Regions from separate parts of the Homo sapiens genome. Here region 1 is linked to region 2. Evidence: promoter capture Hi-C in human tissues and cell types (Jung and others, 2019). All regions are on one chromosome and are shown on one strand. The core of a region is centred on a gene start or on the middle of the fragment in contact, and the rest is flanking DNA. Distances in the headings are between cores, read along the strand shown.

The links. Contacts are between HindIII fragments. The study calls those that stand out against the background at their distance.
Region 1: a fragment that was not itself captured here is called in contact with the fragment with the promoter of ADAMTS2 in region 2 in 2 of the 25 tissues and cell types used here (dorsolateral prefrontal cortex and spleen).

Annotation. Positions count from the first base shown.
Region 1 is chr5:179,414,837-179,418,733 of GRCh38, forward strand. No RefSeq gene overlaps it. Among named protein-coding and RNA genes, the nearest start is that of ADAMTS2, 71 kb to the left of the region's middle. The HindIII fragment of the contact is 6,389 bases long and covers 1-3,897 here.
Region 2 is chr5:179,343,391-179,347,210 of GRCh38, forward strand. ADAMTS2 (ADAM metallopeptidase with thrombospondin type 1 motif 2) reads right to left here and starts at 2,071. Exons shown (of 22, transcript NM_014244.5): 1 at 1,800-2,071; 2 at 377-771. The coding sequence starts at 1,938. It overlaps LOC105377759 (a long non-coding RNA gene), which reads right to left. Exons shown (of 3, transcript XR_941311.3): 2 at 3,556-3,708; 3 at 2,971-3,389. The HindIII fragment of the contact is 12,907 bases long and covers 1-3,820 here.

The sequences.
Region 1 (3,897 bases), core at 896-3,395, 72 kb after region 2:
TCATTTGTGGAGGAGGAACTAAGGCAGGCCACTTGGCTCCAGGCACAGGGCCTCTTCCATGCCATGGATGCAGCCCCCATCTGTCCACAGAACCCTCTGAGGAAGGCAGATGAGCTAGAGCCGTGACAGCTCCCCTCCCCTGCCATCCCCCCACCCCATGATGACTTCTCTAAGCCTCATCCTGAGTGGGGTGCCCCTCCAGCTGCCACCAGTGCAGCACTGCACCCCTGTTCCCCTGTAACTGGAGTCAGACCAAAGACACTGACCAGAGGCGAGAGCTGGAGAAGAGCCCAGATCTCACCGGCTCTGCTGCCAGGAGACCCCACCCAAGGGAACACCCAGTGTGGGGTCACTTGGGCCTCACAGGAAGCTGGGTCTGCTCTGCCAGCACTGCAAGGTGGCCCCCCAAGGATACAGCCCCCCATCTTACCCCCCTCTATGCTCCAGATGAAGGTAGGAATCATATTTATCATTCTTAACAGGACCCCAGAATTTCAAGTTGGGGCCTCTTGGTGCTGCTCAGCTCAGTCAGAACATCTCAGACCTCTGACCAGATGGATTGGTCCAGGGGCAGGCATATGACCCAAGTCAGGCCAATGAGAATGACGAGGTGTCTGCAGGGATTGTGCGAGAAATGCCTCCCTATTCCCCAGGAGCTTCTGGAGGTGGGGTGGGACGGCAGTTTTCACTGAATGAGGAAGGGCGTGATTGCAGTCGCTGCTGGCAGCCACTCTGCTACCAAGAGTAGAGCCAGCCTTAGGATGAAGCTGGCACCATTGGAGGTGAAAAGCAGACAGCCAGAAGGGATCTGTGTTTTTCATGACACCATTGAGCTGCTCGATCAAGCCTCTCCTGAAGTCCACATACCCTGTATGAAACTTTAATTCGATGACTCTATAAATCATCTTCAAGTACAGCTGGATTTACGGGCTCAAAACAACACCTCCAGTCCCTAGGTATTCTCTGTTTCTCCAGTCTATTCCGGATGGTTTTGCTTTCAGCCTCCTCATGGTGGCAACGTGGCTGCCACCACATTGTTCCAGGCCTTGTTCTTCCCAGAAGTTCCCACACCAGCCCCAGGACTCAGTAGAATTGAATCAGCTTGATGTTCGGACCTACCATGAGCCAGTGGAGAGGGGCTGGAGCCCCACAGAGACCACAGGGTCTGCAAAGAGAGGTGGGATGGAGGCTGCATCCCAAGGGCTCTTGGGCACTGTTCCTAGGAGAAGAGGGGATGGCTGACCAACAGGCAAAGCCCATAGCCCCGGCCCCAACAGTGCCCTCCCTCCAGCCCCAGGAGGGCAGCCCCACCCCACACTGCCGCCCTGCCTCCCTCCTCAGTGCCCACCCTAAGGAGCGTCCACAGGGTCACAGCCTGCCTGCCACACCGCCGCAACCAGCATCTCCCACAGCCGCCCTGAAAACCACTCGTCACCAGGACAGCACCACCTCGGAGACAGTGTCAAACCTCACACCCCAGCCAGCCAGGGCTCTCTCAGCCCACGCCCCTCCCCACACCCAGATCTTGTCCACACCTGCCCCCACCTCTCTTCCTTCCCTACTCAGCCTGGAACCAGAGGTCCAGCTGCCCACCTGCTCTCCCGCCAGGACGTCTGCAACCCTGCCAGGCAAGCGCAGCAAAGCCTTGCTCCCAAGGGGTGAAAATGGGCCTTTTCTCAAATAACCAGGGGACTGACGTGGCTCCCCTACGAAAATCCAGGATCCTCAGTGGCAATGGCGTCCTCAGCAGCACTGACACCGGCTCCTGGCCCCGCCGTCATATTCCATATACCCTCGCCACACGCCACAAGGGGCCTGGCAGACCCTCCTGCTTCACTCAGCCTGAGGAGTCTCCTCTCCACTGCCCCCTCCCAGAGCCTCCCCACAGGCTCGGAGGGCCCTGCTCTACTCGGGACCCATGCCCCTGTCCACCCAGGTAAGGGTTAATAAGATTAGCTGTCACTGAGATGAGATGTTTACCCACCTCCAGACTCCGGATGAAGATAGAAATGGTATTTATGATTTCTACCCAACGTTTCTGGAAAGGATTTAAGGTGCTTACGAGAACACACACATATAACAGGATTGCATAAATTAAATGTGGGAGCCAAAAAAGACAGGAAAACGGGGATGGGGACATAACATCGAGCAGGGGAGGAGGCTATTGTGGAAACAAAGGCCATGTGAGCTATGGGCTTGCCTGGGTGGTCGCAGCGTGCCCCATGGCTCTCCAGCAGCTGGCCTGAAAGAGCAAACCAGGGGCTGGAAGCGGCAGGGCCGGTAACATTAAAATGCACACACAATTACCCGGGAGACACCCCAGCAGCAACAGGAATGTCTCCCAAGGGAGCAGACAGCAAGGACGGTTAGGAAGGAGGGGGTTGACGGGCTTCCTTCCGGGGCTGTGGGCTTGGAAGCTGGGATGCTGGGCAAGAGGCGGGGAATGAGATGGTTCTGGCCACCCTGCTGCCTGCACTGGGGCAGTGAGGAAACCCCACAACTGCTGTGCCCTGCTGGGCAGGTGCTGGCCTGTGATGCTGGGCTCTCTATGGGCGCAAAGGGTCCAGCCCAGGCAGCACCTGGGCCCCACCAGCCTCTCCTGCACCTGCTCAGTCCTGCCATGGCACCTGCCCTCTGTCCTGGGTCACTCCTGATGGCTGGGTCAGAGCACTCACTGGCCCTCTTCAGGGCATCCCGGGACCCAGGAAATCCCTTCTGCTCCTGCTTTGGGCCCCAACTCATTCCCCTTTCGTATCTTTAGTGCACAAGCATTTACTAAGCACCTGCAGGATGCAGCCAGGGGATGTGAAGGTTATAGAGGAAAGGAGAGAAAAGTTTCAACTAAAGCTGCCTGCAGCCACTTCAGTCTTTTGGGAAGTGGCACAGGGTCAAGAGGGTGCCCAGGTCTCATGGCTCAAACCTCAGGAAGGTGCCCAGAGGACAGGGCCAATGGCATGCCCCAGGGGCACAGTGGTGGAGAGGGTCAGGGCAGAGGCCAGCAGCACGGGTGGCATGGGCAACAGGCAAAGTTCTGGGAGCCTTGTGTAGGTCTCCCAGAAGCAGCTGGGTGACCACGGGACAGGTGAGACCCTCGGGCTGCCATGGGCTCAGGGAGGGGAGGCAGGACCCAAGGCCACGTGGGCCTTAATGCCAAGTGAATTCATTGGTACCCGAGGCCCACAAAGCCCTGGGCAGTCCTGCCATAGATGAACAATTCTACTTGCATGGCACCTGTTACATCTTTCTCTGGTTGCAAATGTAATGTGCCCTCAGCATCAGCAACAACAACAACTTTAAAAATGCAAAGGGAAAACACAAAAAACAGCCACAATTCCACCATGTGTTGTGTTGGGGGTGGCTCTCAGTTTGGTGTATGACCTGCTAGTCTTTCTTTGTTAATACGTAGTCCGGTGCAGTGGCTCACGCCTGTAATCCCAACACTTTGGGAGGCAGAGGTGGGCGGATCACCTGAGGTCAGGAGTTCACAACCAGCCTGACCAACATGGCAAAACCTCATCTCTACTAAAAAATACAAAAAAATTTACACCTGTAATCCCAGCACTTTGGGAGGCCAAGGTGGGTGGATCACAAGGTCAGGAGATTGAGACCATCCTGGCTAACATGGTGAAACCCCATCTCTACTAAAAATACAAAGAAGTAGCTGGGCATGGTGGTGGGTGCCTATAGTCCCAGCTACTGGGGAGGCTGAGGCAGGAGAATGGCGTGAACCCGGGAGGCGGAGCTTGCAGTGAGCCGAGATCGCGCCACTGCACTCCAGCCTGGGCAACAGAGAGAGACTCCATCTCAATAATAATAATAATAATTAGCCAGGTGTGGTGGCAGGTGCCCATAATCCCAGCTACTCGGGAGGCTGAGGTAGGAGAATCACTTGAACTC
Region 2 (3,820 bases), core at 821-3,320:
TGCAGGTACACACCAACGTTCCACAACACATGTGCACACACTCACAAAGGTACACACACATACACGGACCCACCCCCGGATGCAAGCCAGAGACCTGTTCAGGCAGGCAAAAGAGAGAGGCGCACGCTCCTGCCTGCTGAGCCTTTTGGAGACCCGGGCGCTCCCCATGCATAAATGGCCCCCTGCTCAGACCAGTCAAAACAACCTGCTTTCCAGCCAAGCCCTTCAGTTGGAGCACGAGGCTCACTAAAGCACGGGAAGGGCGCGGAAAGTCCTCAGCGCAGGCCTTGCCCTCCCAAGGGACTCCCAGGTAACCCTTTTCCAAAACCCAGGCGAGAGCAGCGGAGAGAAAGGAGCTAGAGAAGTGCGTACTCACCAGCCCATCGCAGTTGCTGAGCGCCACAGAGGAGGCTTCGGCTAGGCCGGCCACGTCTCCGACGTAGAGACAGCTCCCGAGCAGGGGCTCCACGCGGGTGGTGCCCTTCTCGCCCTGCCACTCCATAGTGGCCCCGGGCGCCACGAGGCGGGCGTTGGGCCGCAGCCGCAGGTGCAGGTCTCGGCCAAAGACCGTGACATTGTAGAAGAGGTGACTGCCAGGCTCCTCCTCGTTGCCTCCGGGGAAGCTCGGGGTCCGGACCGGGGCGGCCCTGCGGGCTCGTACCCCTGCTCTGGACGTAGCTGCCGACACCACGTGGGACACCAAGCGGCCCTGGGCGTCAGTGCGCACGGGCACCGCCAGGATGCGCTCCGCTCCGTGCCCCAGGGGCCCGCCTGCAACGGGAAGGGGCGTTAGATCGGCGGAGACCACGGAGCCCCAGTGCCTCAGAGACCCGCCGGCAAGCCACGCCCCCCCAGACCCCGCCCCACTGCGAAGGGAAGGGGCATTCCGCCAGGCGACCCCAGAAGCCAGCCTGCACCTCCCCGGCTTTCCTGCAACCGGGAAGGGGCGTTAACAGGGCCACCACTCCGGGGCTCCGCCACTCCCCAGCCGTTCCCTCCTCCGGAGACCTTGCCTGCCAAGAGCTCTGCCCCCTGCCCCGTTCAGGGTTGGGGCTCGGTGGGAACCTCCCCGTGCCCGAAGGGACGACCCCGTCAGAGAGTCCCCCGACCCTTGCACCTACCGTCCTTGGCAGGACGTGGAGCTGCTCGGAAGCCATTCCGGGTTGGCCCCCTTACCCGTGTGCCACGACCCCTCGGCGGGCCCCTGCCGCCCGAGTGCCCTCACCGCCAGCCTCCGGAGCGGCGGAGTCTCGGCTTCCCCGAGCACGAGCGGCCTGTCCTGCCTGTCCAGCTCCCGCTCAGCCCGCTGCCGGCCCCGTCTCCCCGAGCGCCCGAGGACTGGGAGGGGTGGAACAGGGTCCCTCCGATCTCCGGGGATTCCCTGCGGGGCGCCCCAACCAATCCTTAGGGCCCAAGGCTACGCGCTCGGCAGCCGGCTCCTCCGGAGCGTCCCCGGACGCGAGCCCCGGCGCCGCCTCGCCCTGGCTCCCCCCTCGGACCCGCTGGGGCTGACTCTGCGCTCTTGGCCGCGGGGCTTTTCCCGGCCCTCCGTCCCCACCCTCCGCGACTCAGGAGCCGCCAGTGCTCCGAGGCTCCCCCGGCCCAAGGCGCTCGGGGGCGGTGCGGGGCGCCCCCTGCGCGACCAACCCGGCCCCGAAGTTGGCCAACTTGGCCCCGGGCGGGGCGCGCGGAGTTTGCCCAAGTCAGGCTGGACGACGCCTGGGGAGGGGGCGGCGGGGCACGCGGGACAGGGCCAGGCCGGCGGGGGTCCCGGGGAGTAGGGGCCGGGCCGCACCTACCTGGGGGGTCGGCGGCGGCGGCGAGCCTGGCGTTCGCGGGCGGCGGCGGCGGCGGCAGGAGCGGCGGCGGCAGCAGCAGCAGCAGCAGCAGCAGCGCGGGGCAGAGCAGGCGGCGAGCGGCTCCCGCCGGCGGATCCATGGCAGCCGGACTGCAGCCGGGGCCCCGCACTCGCAGCCGGCGCGAAAGTTCCCCGCGAGCCGCCCAGCCCACATCTGGGGGCAGCTGGAGCCGCCCGCAGCTGCAGCACCGCAGGGCGCGGGGCGGAGGAGGCGAGGCGCGGAGGGGCGGGCGGGGGAGCGCGGAGGGAAGGCGGGGAGAGGGAAGGAGCGAGCGAGCGAGGGAGGCAGGCGGGAGGGAGGGAGGCGAGCGAGGGGGAGGGCGGGGACGGCGGGCGCCTCAGCCTGCGGTGACCCGGCGCATCTTGGCGCGGCCGCCGCCGCCGCCCGCTTCCCTCTTCGCGCCGCCGTCGCCGCGGTGCCGGGCTCGCAGCGAAGCAGAGACACCCCGAGGCGGCGGCAGAGAAGCGCCGCGGGCCGGGCCGGGGGAGCCCCGCCGCCAGCCACCCCAGGGGCACAACCTCCGAGGAGCGGCGCCGGCCGAACGTCCCCACCTAGAGAGCCCTTGGGGTGCCGGGTCCCACCCATCAGCCCTGGAATTCAAGGGGTGCATCCCCCTGTCTCTGTGCTCTGGGGCAGGACAGGGTGAGGGAATGAAAGGGGAGGGGGGACTGACTACTGGGTCCAAGGTCTGAGCCAGGCCGAATGCCCAAATAGAGGCCGCAAAGGCCAGAAGATGCTGTTAGGAGGGTACACCCAGGGCGCGACCCCAAAGATCAACTTTTGCCCTTACTGAGAGAGGCAAGGCTCCTTCAGTCCCCAGTTCCTCTTCCTCTGAAGTCCCTGTCCCCTGTCCCCCATCTGCCTTCCCATCCCTCCGCTGCAGCCTCAGCACAGCCTCTTCCTGCCAGACCTGGGCTCTCTGCCCATGAGCACAGTCAGGCTCCTGCCCTCACCTGTCCTCAACCCCACGTATGCATTCTGTCCTCCCGCCATTGCACTCCCGGCCCCCAACCTGAAATGGCCTCTCCAAGCTCTGCCTACCTTTTCCACCCAAGCATCCAAGGACACCTGGGCCCATTCTGGGGCCAGTTTGCTGTTAGAGCCCGTTGCCAACCGGAACCCCTCCCCAGTCCCTCCTCTCCAGCAAGGCCCTGATCCTCCCATGCTGTCTGAGCTCAGCGGCCTCTCTCCAGGGCCTGCCTGAGAGCCCCCTCTCAGGCTGTTGATCATCTCTGCCCTGGGACCCCCAATTTCTGCCTCACTTCCCCAGAGGGTGAACACCCACCCCTTTGATTTTCTCATTTGCCCTGCCCCAGGTCTGTGTGGCCAGGGCTTTGGTCTTTGCTTTGGCCAGGGGCAGAGGACCCGGAGATGACTCAGGCCTCTCCCTGCTGGCCAGGAGGTCCCAGTCGTTGGGGGAAACACGACTTACACAGCAGGCTCTAACTGTGATCTCACGTCCTTGGTTCTTTCGATTGTGGGTCCTGGGTGTGAGAGCATCGCAGCTGGACAGCCATCTTCACCTGCAAGCTGTACTCTTTCTGTGTCACCTAAGGGTGCCCGAGGCTGGATCCAGCTCCCAGGCATGGTGAGATGTCACATGGAAATTTAGATTGGTAACTTTTCTTGAGATATTGGAAGATGTGGCCACGCTAGCCCCACAGTCCTGCTTAGCAACCATTAAATGGGCACTTACCTTGCAGTTTGTGGCAGGTCCCGCCTCTCCTCACTCTCTGTAGGCATCTGCTCTCGTGACCTGTGATGACCCAACTGGTTCCAGAGAAAGTTGGAACTGGAATCCTAGTATACCACAGAGATGACTCCAGAGCTGGGCATCCAGGAGGACTTCCTGTAAGAGGTGGCATGAGTTGAATTGTGAAGGCTGGGGGAGCTAGGCAGCCCAGAGTTGGGTCCAGCCAGTTGCTGTCCTGGAACCCATGACGCATTCCTCCTGTGGTTGT